Linked DNA regions of Homo sapiens: all the other regions are linked to region 1. The links are contacts of gene promoters, found by promoter capture Hi-C in human tissues and cell types (Jung and others, 2019). All regions are on one chromosome and are shown on one strand. The core of a region is centred on a gene start or on the middle of the fragment in contact, and the rest is flanking DNA. Distances in the headings are between cores, read along the strand shown. Region 1 holds the start of EFNA2 (ephrin A2). Region 2 holds the start of KLF16 (KLF transcription factor 16). Region 3 holds the start of ABHD17A (abhydrolase domain containing 17A, depalmitoylase).

Region 1 (4,638 bases), core at 1,209-3,708:
GACACCTGTTCCCAGAGTGAGCCTGATTTCTGACCCTTGGCTCCACAGGAAGCTTACTCTAGAGTGACCTCCGGCCGCGGCTGCGTCCCAAAGCCGGGACAGCTCCCAGCCCCAGGAGGGAACAGGGCTTCTTGGACCCCCACAGTGGCCCCCCTGCCAGGCAGGGGTTTGCCGGGGCAGCCTCGCCCAGGGCCAGGCCTCGGAGACGCCCTGCCCTCCCCTCCCTTCCCCAGGTCCTTCCTCTAGGAGCGGCCAGCGGGCGCGGGGAGGTTGAATGGGGGACGCACCGCCTTTGTTCCCGTCCCTGCTTGGGCTCTGACCTTGAGAGAGACAAGAACAGAAGGAAAACGGAGCTTCTGCTCAAATCCGTTCAGCGGTGGCGGTGGTGGCGGCTCTCGCCTCGGTGGCCCCTGCATGCAAATGAGTGGCCCTGCCATGCCTGGGTGGAGGTGGTGCCCTTCCAGCTCCCACCTGTGCAGGTCCCAGTCCTGGTTTGAGAAGAGACCCCCTCCTCCCGACCCTGGCCCACCCCTCCTCACCCACGAGATCCCTTGAAGCAGGAGGGGGCTTCTGGTCCCAGGGTAGAAGGAAGCTTCCAGAACTCCCACCTTTGCCAGGTGGCATGCTGGGGCCGGGCACGCCAAGACCCCAGGCTCACGGCCCCTTGTCCTGTGCTTGGGTGCAGCCGCCACACTCTGCTCCGAAAGTGCTCACCTCCGGGAGTGGCCGTCCCCCTCCCTAAAAGAGCCCCCCACCAGACGGAGCCGCCCGGGAAGCTTCTCCAGCCTGTCTGGGCTACAGAGCCTTGTGTGGCTAGAACCCAAGGCCCTCACTCCAGGGGTGCTGAGAGAGCCTGTCCAGAGGGCCTGCCTCAGCCACCACCTGGGACAGGTTCACGCCCTCCACTGAAGAGACACCCGGCCAGCCCTGGGCCTTCGACCTGGGACGTCTGTAGTGGGGTCAGGGGATGAGACCTGGAGCTCAGAACAGACGGGCTGAGCTCCCTGGAGGAGAGAGAACTGAGAACCTTGTCCTGGCAGGGACGCTAGAGCACTGGGTGGGACAGACCTTTCTGGAAGAGCAAGATTTTAACAGGAAGAAAAAGTGGAAGGACTTCCCAGCAGGACCCAGCCTGAACAAAGGTCAGGTGGTGTGGCCCGCGTGGCCCGCTGGGGAATCGGGGGAGGAGGGCACGCAGGAGACACAGGACAGAGCCCACCACGTCTCAGAGCTGTGGGACGGTGGTGGGTCCGGTCCCCACCCCACCTTGCTGGGGCACAGGTTAGCTTGCCCATCTCTGGGTTCACGGTCCCTGCCAGGAGTTTGGGTAATGCCTCACACAGGGACCTTCGGGTCCAAGGGCTGTTGGTGCTTGCCCTGCAGTTCCCTCTCCTGCACTGGGCCTGGTGAATGACACTAATTCAGAGACGTACAACACGATCTGGGCATCGCCAGCAAAGTCCAGCCAGCGTTTGATGACAGCCTACCCTCCACAAGCTCAGAGTCTGGTGAGGGAGGCTGTGGCATGAATAAGGGCAAAAACAGAGGGCAGGCCAGGTGCAGTGGCTCACGCCTGTAATCCTAGCACTTTGGGAAGCCCAGGTGGGAAGATCGCCTGAGCCCAGGAGTTCAAGACCAGCGTGGCCAACATGGCCAGACACTGTCTCTATAGATTGGAAAAAAGACAAAGCAGAGGCCAGGCCCCCAGTTCCCCACCTGTGTCAGCCTACCAGGAGGAGAAATCACTCGGCGTTCCCTGAACAGATCAGACCCCGGGTCTTTGCACAAGCTGTGCCCCCGGGCAGCGGCCCTCCCCTGCCTGCAGGATTCGTGCGTGGAGACTGATTTGCTGTCGGCCGGGGCTTCACTCTGGGCTTCTTGGATCCCATCCCCAGCTGCTCACACTCCACATCGGTCCACCTACTATGCTCCCGGCACCCTTAGGGCTGAGGTGTAGGGACTTACTCCATCCCCAGGGAACAGCGTGGGTCCGGAGAGGCGACTCCCAGGAGGGCCCCAGGGAGGTCGCAGCCCGAGCAGCTTTGGACTTTGGCCAGCGCCCCTCTGAAACTCTGCCCCGGCCCCCGCAGGGAGACTGGAGTTGGCCGAGCCCGATTTGGGACGCGTGCGTCGGGGTTGGTGAGGCTGCGGATAGCGCTGGAACCGGGCAGGTGAGAGGCCCGGGACCCAGGGCCGGGCCGGGTGGAGCGCGTGGGGGCGCGGGAGGCAGGGTGCGCCCCCGCCCCTCGGAGACCCCAGGCCGGGCCACGCGGATGCCGGCGGGGGGCGCGCAGAATCGGGGTCGCTGGGGGCAGGCCCCGGGGGACGAGCCTGAGACGGGGTGGGCCGGGGCAGGGGGCGGGCGCAGGCTGGAGACCCCCGCCCAGTCCCCGCGCGGCCGGGGCACGGCGGGAGGGGGCGCCCGCGGCCCTCCCGACGCTCGGGCGGGACAAAGGCCGGAGCCCGGGCCCCTCCCCGGCGGGTGCGGCGGCGGCGGCCCGCGCTCCGACAGTCCGCGCGGCCGGGTCCTGCGCCCGGGGCGACCCCGGCGCCCCGCCCCGCCGCCGCCTGACTTCTCGGCGCCCGAGGTCGCGCGCGCGGAGGCGGGGGCGGCCCGGGATCTCCAAGCGCCGCCGCGCCCTCCTCCCGCCCGCCCTCCGCCCGCCCGCTCGGCGGCGGCGGCGGCGGCGGAGGAGGCGGAGAAGGCTGGCAGGCGGCGGCCGGGAGAGCGAGCGCGGCGGCCGGACCGGGGCCATGGCGCCCGCGCAGCGCCCGCTGCTCCCGCTGCTGCTCCTGCTGTTACCGCTGCCGCCGCCGCCCTTCGCGCGCGCCGAGGACGCCGCCCGCGCCAACTCGGACCGCTACGCCGTCTACTGGAACCGCAGCAACCCCAGGTGAGCGCGGCCGCGCGCGGGGGGCGCCCGGGGACCCCCCAACGCCCCCCAAGCCGCGCCCGGCCTCGCGCCCCCGGAGCTCCGGGCGCCCCCCACGCGCGCGCCGCCGCCGGGATGCGGGCGCCCGGTTCCCGCGGGAGCCCCCCAGGGAGCTCCGGCCCCCCGGAGTTTGGGGGACTCGCCCTTTTCGCGCCTGCCTTCCCCGGGGCGCCCCATTGCCCTACGGACTGTGGGGACTCGCGCCCCACATCCCCCAGAGCGCCGACGTCTCCTGGAGTTTGGGGAACCCCTCTGGTACCCTCCGATGCCGGGTAGCCCCTGAGTTGCCTGCCTGGACTTGGGGGGACCCCTGATCCACCCGCTTCTCTGGGGAGCCCCCTCGGTTTCGCATTTGGTGGGGATCCCCGGGGACCTTGGCACCGGAGGTGGGGGACTGTGGCCCTCGAGGGATCTCTGGGTTCGTCCTGCCCGCAGGTCCCCAGATGAACTTGGGGAAGTTGGAGTGTCCCTCCCTCAGGACCCAGCATCTGCTTCACTCCAGGGGGCCAAGGGCCCAGCTTTGAAAGGAGACTGAGGGGCCGGGGAGCTGGGGGTCAGCCCCGGGAGGGGCAGTGGGATGGAGTCCTCTCTTGTCCTCTGGGCGCTGACCAGGAAACTGAGGTGCAGAGGGGATGAGGAGCTGGCTCAAGGTCATGCAAGGGGGGGACTTGGGGGCAGGACCCAGGTGGCCCAGTGCCCTGCCTGCCACGCCCGGCCGAGATGCCGCACCCGCCTGCTGCAGGCCCCCTTGTTTTGAACCAGGTCCGGGCCAGGCACAACGTGGGGGACAGGAGAAGCCCCCGTTGGTCAGAGCAAAAAAAGTTTGCCGGGGCCTGGCCATGGCCTGGACGTGGGTAGAACCCTCTGAACCATCCCAGGGTCTCCAAGACAGGAGCAGGCTGCAGCTTCCCTGGGGGTCCCGTGGGAGCCGGGGCTTTGGGGGTCCTGGGGCTCGGGAGGGAGTCAGCCCCAGCACTCAGGGTGTCACCGTCTTCCTAAGGCACACGGAGCTGCACATCGGGGGCTGAGGCGGCCCCCCCCCACTCTTCTGCTACTGGTCACTTTCTCTCCGTTTTCCAGCCGCTTCCTGTGCCGACCGAGCCGCCCTCTGGAGCCCGCCACCCCTCCTTGTCCCCTCTGTCTCCTGCTGTCCTCGGTCCCCGGGAGGAAAGTTGCATGAAGGGGTCTCTTTGAGGCGGGCTCGGGGACAAGGGCGGCCCGTGTTCCGCCGTGGGGGTGGGGAACACGCACAGGCCCACCCCCCACCCTGGTCAACGGCCTCGGGTCGGGCCCTGGGGGCTGAGGGCAGGGACCCCGGGCCGCTGGGGGACGGCTGGCCCACCTCAGAGCGGGTCCCCGAGCCGCCCGCTGTGCTGGTCACATGTGGGTTTGATTAAGGCTGTCGCTGGCCGTGCGGGGAGTCCAGCGGGCAGCGCTTCCCCGGCCCAAGTTTTTGGTTTCAGCTGCGGAATCTCCCGTCCCCAGCGTGGCCTGTCCTTTGTTCTAGCAAACGCCAAACACACGAGGACCCGGCAACCGGGGGAGGAAGGTGGTCACCAGGGCCGTCCTGCTGCCCCACCTGCCACAGGGCTGTGGGCTGCGGGCCGGACCCCCGGCCAGGGGAAGGAAGTGGCCTCCCCAGTGCCTGGCTTGGCCCAGCCACCTCCTGTTGCTCCGGGTCTGACCTGGTTGCCCAGCTCAAACC
Region 2 (4,175 bases), core at 1,192-3,691, 580 kb after region 1:
TCCCTCCCCTCCCTGCTGGCTTAGGGACCGCTGCCCCAATACCCGGGGGCCTATGGAAGCGCCTCTTGGGTGCCACTCAGGGAGGTGGCCATCCCGTCCACTTAACCCAGAAACTCAGAAAACCCAAATGGAGCTCTCAGGCCACGCCATCTGGCAAGAAAAGAATGACCTGGGTAGACAGGTGGGAGTCGCTTTCCCAACAGGCTCCCACTTCAGCCCCGTCTGTTCAGATCGCCCAACTTACCCCCAAAAAGCCAGGGCACTCCTGGACCCCTGCCCACCGCCCGGAGAGGCACCTCCCTTTCTGTTCCCAACGCTGCCTCGCCATCTTCACAGACCCCCAATGTCCCTCCCCGCGGAGATACACGGACCCCATTGCCCTCAAAAAGAGGTAACACCCTGGGACCCCTCCGCCGAGGATGTGTGGCTCCTCGCAGAAAACGCAGACCCCACCCAAGTCCTGTCTTGACGCCCTCGGTTCCCGTCTGTGTCTCAAGGTGGGCAGAGCCTCCAGGCCCCTGGGACCAGGACAGGGACTGAGCGAGGGGTGAAAAGAGTGCAGAACAGAGAGGGGGCGGCCGGCAGGCTACACACCACCGCCCCCACCCGCCCTCCTGCTCTCCACCCTCAGGCGTCCCAGCGCGGCTCCCCATACCCCAAAGATGGACCCTCAATTCTTCCGCAAGGCATTCGCGGCCCCTGCTCATCTCAGCCCCACCACTCTGGACGGCCCACTTCCCTTCGGCTGCTCCACGTGTCCCTACAATCCGAGCCCACGGACCAAGCCTCCTTGGAGTGTCCAGCTGCCCAAAGCGGCCACCGCTATGGCTATGAAATAGAGGCAGCATCGCACTCTTGATAGAAATGAGAAAATTGAGACCCAGATCGGGTAGAGGTCTTCTGTTTGGTGGCAAGGCCAGAATGCCAAGCCCAAGGGCAGCCGCACAGCTTTCCCCCAGCCCCCCACCCTCCCCGGAAGGGACAAGCACCTCTAATGCCCAAACCAGGGCCGGCCATCAAGGCCCACCGTCCCCTGTTGCCCAGTCCAAACTCCCAGTCCAGAAAGTGGAACCCTAGGAGGGGACGGAGTGAAAAAATACAGCCAGGCCCACCAGGCTCCCGGTTCCCCTCGCCGCCCCGGGGACTGCGCTAGGAGGGGCGTTGGTGTAGCCGAAGCGCTCCAACTACGCGCACCTTCCCGAATCGCCCGCCAGGTAGGGGTGAACAAACACGCCAGGGAAATACAGCAGTGTGGACCCGAGCCCCTCGAGGGTCCTCCAATACTATGAAGTTCCCCCGCCCAGACTCAGGCCCCAACCCGCGCTCCTAGCCTCGCCCTCCCCCTCGTTAAAATACAGAGAACGCAGAGAAAACGTGCCGGGCTCCCCCCATCCTGGCCCCACGCCAGGTGCTCTGCCGACCTCTGGGGAGAATCCGCGCGGCCACCCCGGCGGCGGCGACGCGGTTCCTCCTCCATTTTCACAGATAAGGAAACTGAGGCTGGGGGAGGGGGAGAACCCAGAACCCCAGAGCCGGATGCTCCAACCACGGTGCCCACCGCCCAGACCAGAACGCAAAAGAAAAAAAAAAAAACGGAACAAGGCCCAGAAAGGGAGAGAGGTGGTCTGCCCAGGAGTCTCAATCCCGCCCGCAGACCTCGCTGGGCCCCCGGAGCCCCCGCCACTGCCGCCGGGGCGGCCATCCGCTCGCCGCCCGACCGCGTGGCCGCCACGCCCCCCGCGCGCGCCCCACCCACCGAGGCCCCGCCCTGCCGGCCGGCGCGGCGGCGGCCCGGGCGCGCCCCCCTCCCCGCCCCCCACGCGCCACGCAGTTTCGGGGTCCTGGCGGGGGAGGGGTCTCAGGCGGCCGCCCCCGCAAGGGCCGGGATCGCGGCTGCACTCACCTGTGTGCGTCCGCAGGTGCGACTTTAGGTGCGAGGACTTGTAGTAGGCTTTGGCGCAGTCCGGGAAGGGACAGCGGTGGCTCTTGGCGGCGGCGGAGGGCGCGGCGCCGGGGGCGCGGCCCGAGGACGGGGACGAGGCGGCTGAGGAGGAGGAGGCGGGCGAGGCGCCCCCCGGGGCGGCTCCGGGTCCGCCGCGCAGGTCGGCCAGGATGCTGGCGGCCAGCAGGTGGGGCGCCGCGGCGGCGCCGGGGCCCGGGCCAGAAGCGGCGGGGGGCGGCGGGGGTGGCCCCGGGGTCCCGGGTGAGGCGGCCTCGCGGCGCGCCGCGCGCACATCCAGGCCGGCGGCGGGGCCCGCGCCCTCGGGGCCGGGCCGCCCGCGGTGCACCACGGCGCCCGAAGAGATGGCCATGAGCACGTCGGCGGCGAAGTAATCCACGCACGCCACGGCCGCCGACATGCCGAGCAAGGGCGCGCGGCGCGGCGGGCGGAGCGGAGGCGGCGGGAGCGGCGTCCGTCCGGCCGGCGGCGGCTGCTCGAGTGCGGGAGGCGGAGGAGGAGGAGGAGGAGGCCCGGCGCGCGCCGCCGCCGACGCCCGCGCTCGGCCTGCCCCGCCCCGCCTGACGCGTCCTGACGCACCGGAGCCCGCGGGGGCGGCCACAGCCCGCCCCGCCCGGAGGACGCCCCCTCGGGGCGCCGCAGCCACGCCCCCCGCCCGGCGCGCCCTCCACCACTCTCCGAGCCGCGCGCGGCCGCCGGGGGCGGGGCTCGGGCCGGAGGAACCCGCCCCCCGGCGCGCCCACTCCGGCCTCCGCCAGCGCCTAGCGTCTTAGGCCCGGAGCGCGCCTTCTCCGCGCTAGGGTGCAAGGCCGGGAGCCCCGCCCCCTCCCGGCGCGCCCCACTCCAGCGCGCGCCCCCGTACCCTTTCCCGGAGCACCACCCCCTCAAGCCGGGGCGGGAGGCCGAGGACCCCGCCCCCTCTCCGGCACGCCCCTCCTTCCGAGAGCGCGCCCCGCCCCATCCCGGCACGCCCCTCCCTCCCAGAGCGCGCCCCGCCTCCTCGCTGGCGCGCCCACCCCACGCCGGGGCGCGCGGCCGGCGGGAGCCCGCCCCCTCCCCGGATGCTTCCCTCCTGGCCCCGGGCGCGCCCCCGTTCGCGATGGAGGAGGGCTCCGATCCCCACGTGGCCGGGGTTGGAGGGGTGCGGAAGCGGCCGGCCCCGCCCCCAGGCCACGTGCGCGACCCTTCCCCCCTCTTCTCCCGGCCTGGGGCCCTGCTTTGACCCCGCACTCAGGCATCTGCTCGTCCTCTTCTCTGGGGTTCCCCCTCGCCGCTCACAGAGCCCCTCGGAGCCTCCCGGCCGAGACACCCGGTATCCCGCGCCCGCGGCGGGGCCCGGGAGGGTGGGGCAAGGCTGCGTTCGTTCCTCTTTTTGCACCCAGTTCCGGAGCTACTAGAGCGCGCCCCACTGGGGGTGGGGAGGGCCGGTTGGGTCCCAGAGGGTCGGGATAGGGGGACGGGAAGAGGGGGCCGAACGCAAAGGGCTGGGCTGGGCTGGGGGCGCCTGAGCGGGTCAGAGGTTCCCCGCCCTGCTGGGACACCGGGGTCCGGGGCTTCTCTTTCCATTCCCAGGCATCGATTCTTGGGGTTCGGACGGGAAAACTGAGGCCAGGTATTCGGGCCTCCCGGCCGCGAGGACGTCCAGGCCAACTTGTTAAATATTAGGGGGGACACCAGGGACGCGGATGGCCCAGTTCGCAGGCCCAAGGCGGCGGGGGCACAGAAACTGGGCGGCCCCCCTCGGTCGCGACCGCGCTCCCGCCCCTTCCCAGCTCCGGCGGGGCGGCGGGGACTGCGCAGTGGCCGGAGCTGCCTCCAGGGGGCGGAGCTGCTTTGGCCTGCGGCGACCTCCTGCTCTGGGTTGGGCATGGACAGAGGCCCTGACCCGATTCGGGGCTTCTCTAGCCCCATCCCCCGCCCACCTGCAACCCCAGCTGACGCCCTGAGGCTGACCACTGTTCCCTGGGTCGCCCGCACTGCGCCTGGGCTCAACCATGCTTGGTTAAGCCAGCTGAGCCCTCCCTGGGCCCCAGTAAGCCCACTCTACGTGGCTGGACAGAGCGGAGCCGAGAGAGAGGAGGTTCAGCGAAGTGTGGGAGGGTACAGGGTGCCCTGCACACACTTGCCCCTCTCCTAGGCCTGGGCTCCAGAGCCCTCTCTGCACCCCTACCATTCGGTGGGCGCTGGGGGTCGGCGTTCCTGCTCCTGCTGGGCC
Region 3 (4,220 bases), core at 1,611-4,110, 600 kb after region 1:
AGTGGAAACTCGGACCTTCTTCCTTGCTGCAGAACGTCATGAAACACATTAAGTCGACAACAGCTAAGTTGCTAAAGCAACCACAATAGTGTAAGGACCTGCCAACAGACAGACGTGAAGAAAACACGAAGGTCTGAGACGTCTATCTACCGACCACGCTTCTCCTTCAGACTGGAGCGAGGAGAGAGACACGCTCACAACTCAATTTCAGCAGAACACCCTGGAATGCTTGGCTTTTGGGTCACAGCATGAGAAAACCGTGGGGCCAGGAAGATGAGGCTCAAAGGCAGATGTGGACACAGATGGACATGCAGGCAGCTGCAGGCGCCACAGACACGGCTCGTGGGGACACCCTCACTACCAAGGAGCAGCCTCAGGCCCAGAAACACACCTGCTCCCTCAGGACCTGATGTGAGACCCACGTTCCTGTGAGCCGGACTCATGGGCACACGAGGAGGAGAGGAGAGAGCTCTGAAAGCCAGGGTGGGGCAAGGATGGCATCCCAGTGCCCCCAGACTCCCAGGCGGAAGGCAAATCGCACATGCAAGCACTTTTCAGCCGGGAGGTGGACTGTCAGGCTGGTTCTGCTTCTCAGATGGAGGCGAGTCTCCCTCCTGGAGACACCTGTCAATGTCTGGACACAGTTTTGGGTGTCACCACTGGGGACTGGGTGGAGGCTGCTTAGCACCCTGCAGTGCCCAGGACAGACCCACCCCAAAGAATGATCAGGCCCAACATCCACAGCGTCGAGGTTGATGTCAGCTTTTCAACATATTCTCAAAGAGGTCCAGGCCCTACCGGTGCTGCCCCGCTGGTGCTGGGGACTTGGAGGGCCCTGCAGTTTAGGTGGCATCATGCAGCTGGGTCCTGAGAGCCCAGTGGACAGCAGCAGGCCCCTGGAGACCCCGGAGACGAAGGGGCACACCGAGGTGGCCAGGGCCCCACTATCCAGGCCAGAAACAAAGATGTTATCCTTGACACCTCCTTCCACCCACTGGATCTGAGCCGGTCCATCACCAGCCCGGTGGCTCTGCCTGTCTCCCATCAGCCACCGCCCGGTCCCTGCCTCCATCACCTTTCACCAGAGCCACAGCAACAGCCTCCCTCCTTGCTGATCACCTGCTCCAGGACATTCTCCCCCAGCAGCCAAACAATCTTTCACGACACAAATGCAATGGAGCCGCTTCCCTCTTGGGGTGTCCTGGGGGCCTCCCATTATTCCCTGGATAGAGATCAAAGCCCTCCCCACAGCCTGCCAGGTCCGCATTCCGGCTCAGGCCGACCTCTCCAGACTCACTCATCTCACACCCTGCCACTCCTGGCTCCCTCAAGACAAGCCAAATTGCCCCTTCCTGCCTCTGCTCCTCTGCCAGGAACTCCCTTCCCCAACCTCACTAGACAGCCTTGCCCAACCCAACCACCCTTTGCACCTCACTGCCAACGCTCTCAGAGTCCTCAAAGCTGGGACAGGACCCCTTACACGCTCTTTCCACAGCTTGTATTTTTCACACGTTTGGCCAGATCTCCCCCCACCTCCAAACCAGAAACTCTATGAGAGCAGGACCATGACCTGCCACTCACTAAAGGAATGGGCAGGTGGTAGGCAGCACAGAATTAAGGAGGAAGCACAGGAGGAAAAGAATCCCCAAGGTCCGCCAGCTTTGACAGGGAAGGGAAAGTCTAGTCTCCTCTCCTCTCCAGCCACAGGTACCTGGAACCTCCCTAGTGTCACTAATGGGCGTGGACTGGGGAGTGCAAACCCAGACGCCTCACTCACTGGGCACACACCCTTGACACCCTGAATCCCACCAATTCCGTTCCCACGCACTTAACTGGGCAACCCTCTGCAAGCTAGAGGTGTTCTGAGGACCAGCAAGCAACCGAGCAGCCAAAATACTGGAAGATGACCTACATATGGGAGACGGTGACTGCACCTCACTCAACCAGTCAGGGTGGGAAACCCGCCTGGGGGGAGGCGCGGCCATATCAGAGGGCAGACAAACGGGCCAGGTGACAGGGGGATGGGACAGAGGGACAAGCAGGAGCAAAATCCGAGGTGACAGAGCAGGCTCCTGGCTAGAGCAGACCCTGGGAGGAAGAAGTGAGCAGAAGGGTCCTAAGAGAGAGCCTGGGACGGGTGAGGTCGCGCCCCCGAGAGTTTGCACTTCATCCTGGGAGAAATGGCGGGGCCGCGAAGAAGTCCCGAGCAAGCGATGGACAACATAGGAGAAGGGCTGCATCCCGGAGAACGGACGCGAGCGGAGGCCGGGAAGCCCGCCCAGGAGTCAGGGTGGCAGGAAGAAGCCTGACAAGGGAAACAGCGACTGGGAGCTGGTTGGGAAGCAGGGCTCGGGAGGGCCCCTGGGAGCTGCCTTGGGGGGCGAGAGGCCGAAGCGTTTGTCGGACTGGGGGCAGTTTCGGGGCAAAAGAGCGGAATCCGCGGCTCGGACGGGTGCTCCCCGAAGGCAAGGGCCGCGTCCGCAGGAGGGTGGGAGCGCAACCCACGCCGGAGGGCTGAATGGATGGGGACAGGGCTTTCCCAATCACAGACGCTCATCCGCGGTCCGCGCCCCTGCTCTGGGCTCCTCGGGCAGGACCCGCGGAAGCCCTGGGACTGCAGGGGTCTCGGGGACGTCCAACCGGGCTGTCAGGCCCTCGAGGCCCGGCCCGGGACCCCGCGCGGCCGCGCCCGCCCCCGCCCCTGCCCGGCACTCACCACCCCGGCCCGCGCCCCCGGGCCCCAGGGCCGCGCTCCATGGCTCCCGGCCGCCCGCCCGTGCGTCCGTCGGTCCCTCCGCACCCCTGCCCGGCCTCCTGCACCGCCACCGCCGCAGCTCCCCCCACGGACGGAAGTGAGCCTCGTTCTCACCACCGCCCCGGAAGTGACGCGAGGAGCGCGCGGGGCGGGGGTCTGCAGGCACAGAGCGACCGCGCGACTAGCGTCCTGGGGGCGGGGCTGATATGTCGAGGGGCGTGGCCTGCTGCTCTGTGGGCGGGGCCAAACTTAGGTTTCATTCACTTGGGGACCCGGAATAGGTTGAGGCCAGTAAAGTTCTCGCCTGGAAAACAAAATTTACAGGGACGCCAAAAAAAACTCAGACATCAACATTTAGAAATGTTTTAAAATATTTTTCTTTATGAGATGGAGTCGCGCTCTGTCGCCCAGGCTGGAGTACAATGGCGCGATCTCAGCTCACTGCAACTTCTGCCTCCTGGGATCAAGCGATTCTCCTGCCTCAGCCTCCTGAGTAGCTGGGATTACCGGCGCCCACCACCATGCCCAGCTAATTTTTGTGTTTTCAGTAGAGACGGGGTTTCCCCATGTTGGCCAGTGTGGCCTCGAACTCCTGACCCCAGAATCCTCCTGCCTCAGCCTCCCAAAGTGTTGGGATTACAGGCATCAGCCACCGCACCTGGCCTCTTTTTTTTAACATAGAGTCTACTCTGTCACCCAGGCTGGTGCCATCATAGCTCACTGCAGCCTCGACCTCCCAGGATCAAGTGAACCTCCTACTTCAGCCTCCTGAGTAGCTAGGACTATAGGCACAAGCCACCATGACCAGCTTATTTAAAGTCTTTATATATTGCTCATCAGAAATTCTTTTGCATTAGTTTTTAAAATATTACATTAGGCCGGGCACGGTGGCTCATGCCTGTAATCCCAGCACTTTGGGAGACTGAAACAGGTAGATCACCTGAAGTCAGGAGTTTGAGACCAAGCCTGACCAACGTGGTGAAACCCTGTCTCTACTAAAAATACAAATATTAGCCGGGCATGGTGGCACGCGCCTGTAGTCCCAGCTACTCCGGAGGCTGAGGCAGGAGAATCGCTTGAACCCGGGAGGCGAAGGTTGCAGTGAGCCAAGATCGGGCCACTGTGCTCCAGCCCAAGTGACAGAGCAAGAAGACTGTCTCAGATAAATAAATAAATAAATAAATAAATAAATAAATAAATAAATAAAACTATGATCACTCCACTGCATTCCAGCCTGGGCGAGAGAGCAAGATCCTGTCTCTTAAAAAAATTTCATTATGGGCTGGGCGCGGTGGCTCACGCCTATAATCCCAGCACTTTGGGAGGCCGAGTCGGGCAGATCATGAGGTTAGGAGATCAAGACCATCCTGGCTAACACGGTGAAACCTCATCTCTACTAAAAATACAAAAAGATAGCCGGGCGTGGTGGCGGGCGCCTGTAGTCCCAGCTACTCGGGAGGCTGAG

Evidence for each region. The method cuts DNA at HindIII sites, captures the fragments that hold promoters and counts their contacts. A contact is called where the count stands out against the background at its distance.
Region 2: the fragment with the promoter of KLF16 here is called in contact with the fragment with the promoter of EFNA2 in region 1 in 2 of the 25 tissues and cell types used here (dorsolateral prefrontal cortex and lymphoblastoid cells).
Region 3: the fragment with the promoter of ABHD17A here is called in contact with the fragment with the promoter of EFNA2 in region 1 in 1 of the 25 tissues and cell types used here (dorsolateral prefrontal cortex).

What each region holds. Positions count from the first base shown.
Region 1 is chr19:1,283,415-1,288,052 of GRCh38, forward strand. It overlaps EFNA2 (ephrin A2), which reads left to right and starts at 2,459. Exons shown (of 4, transcript NM_001405.4): 1 at 2,459-2,894. The coding sequence starts at 2,755. RefSeq lists enhancers at 1-19, 1,543-2,043, 2,044-2,544, 4,549-4,638. The HindIII fragment of the contact is 32,397 bases long and covers 323-4,638 here.
Region 2 is chr19:1,861,138-1,865,312 of GRCh38, forward strand. It overlaps KLF16 (KLF transcription factor 16), which reads right to left and starts at 2,442. Exons shown (of 2, transcript NM_031918.4): 1 at 1,904-2,442. The coding sequence starts at 2,360. RefSeq lists enhancers at 1-870, 3,978-4,175, silencers at 1,685-1,854, 1,905-2,084, 2,415-3,514, 3,585-3,804 and a promoter at 2,331-3,535. The HindIII fragment of the contact is 11,768 bases long and covers 1-3,476 here.
Region 3 is chr19:1,882,636-1,886,855 of GRCh38, forward strand. ABHD17A (abhydrolase domain containing 17A, depalmitoylase) reads right to left here and starts at 2,861. Exons shown (of 5, transcript NM_001130111.2): 1 at 2,717-2,861. RefSeq lists a silencer at 2,126-2,273. The HindIII fragment of the contact is 23,112 bases long and covers 1-4,220 here.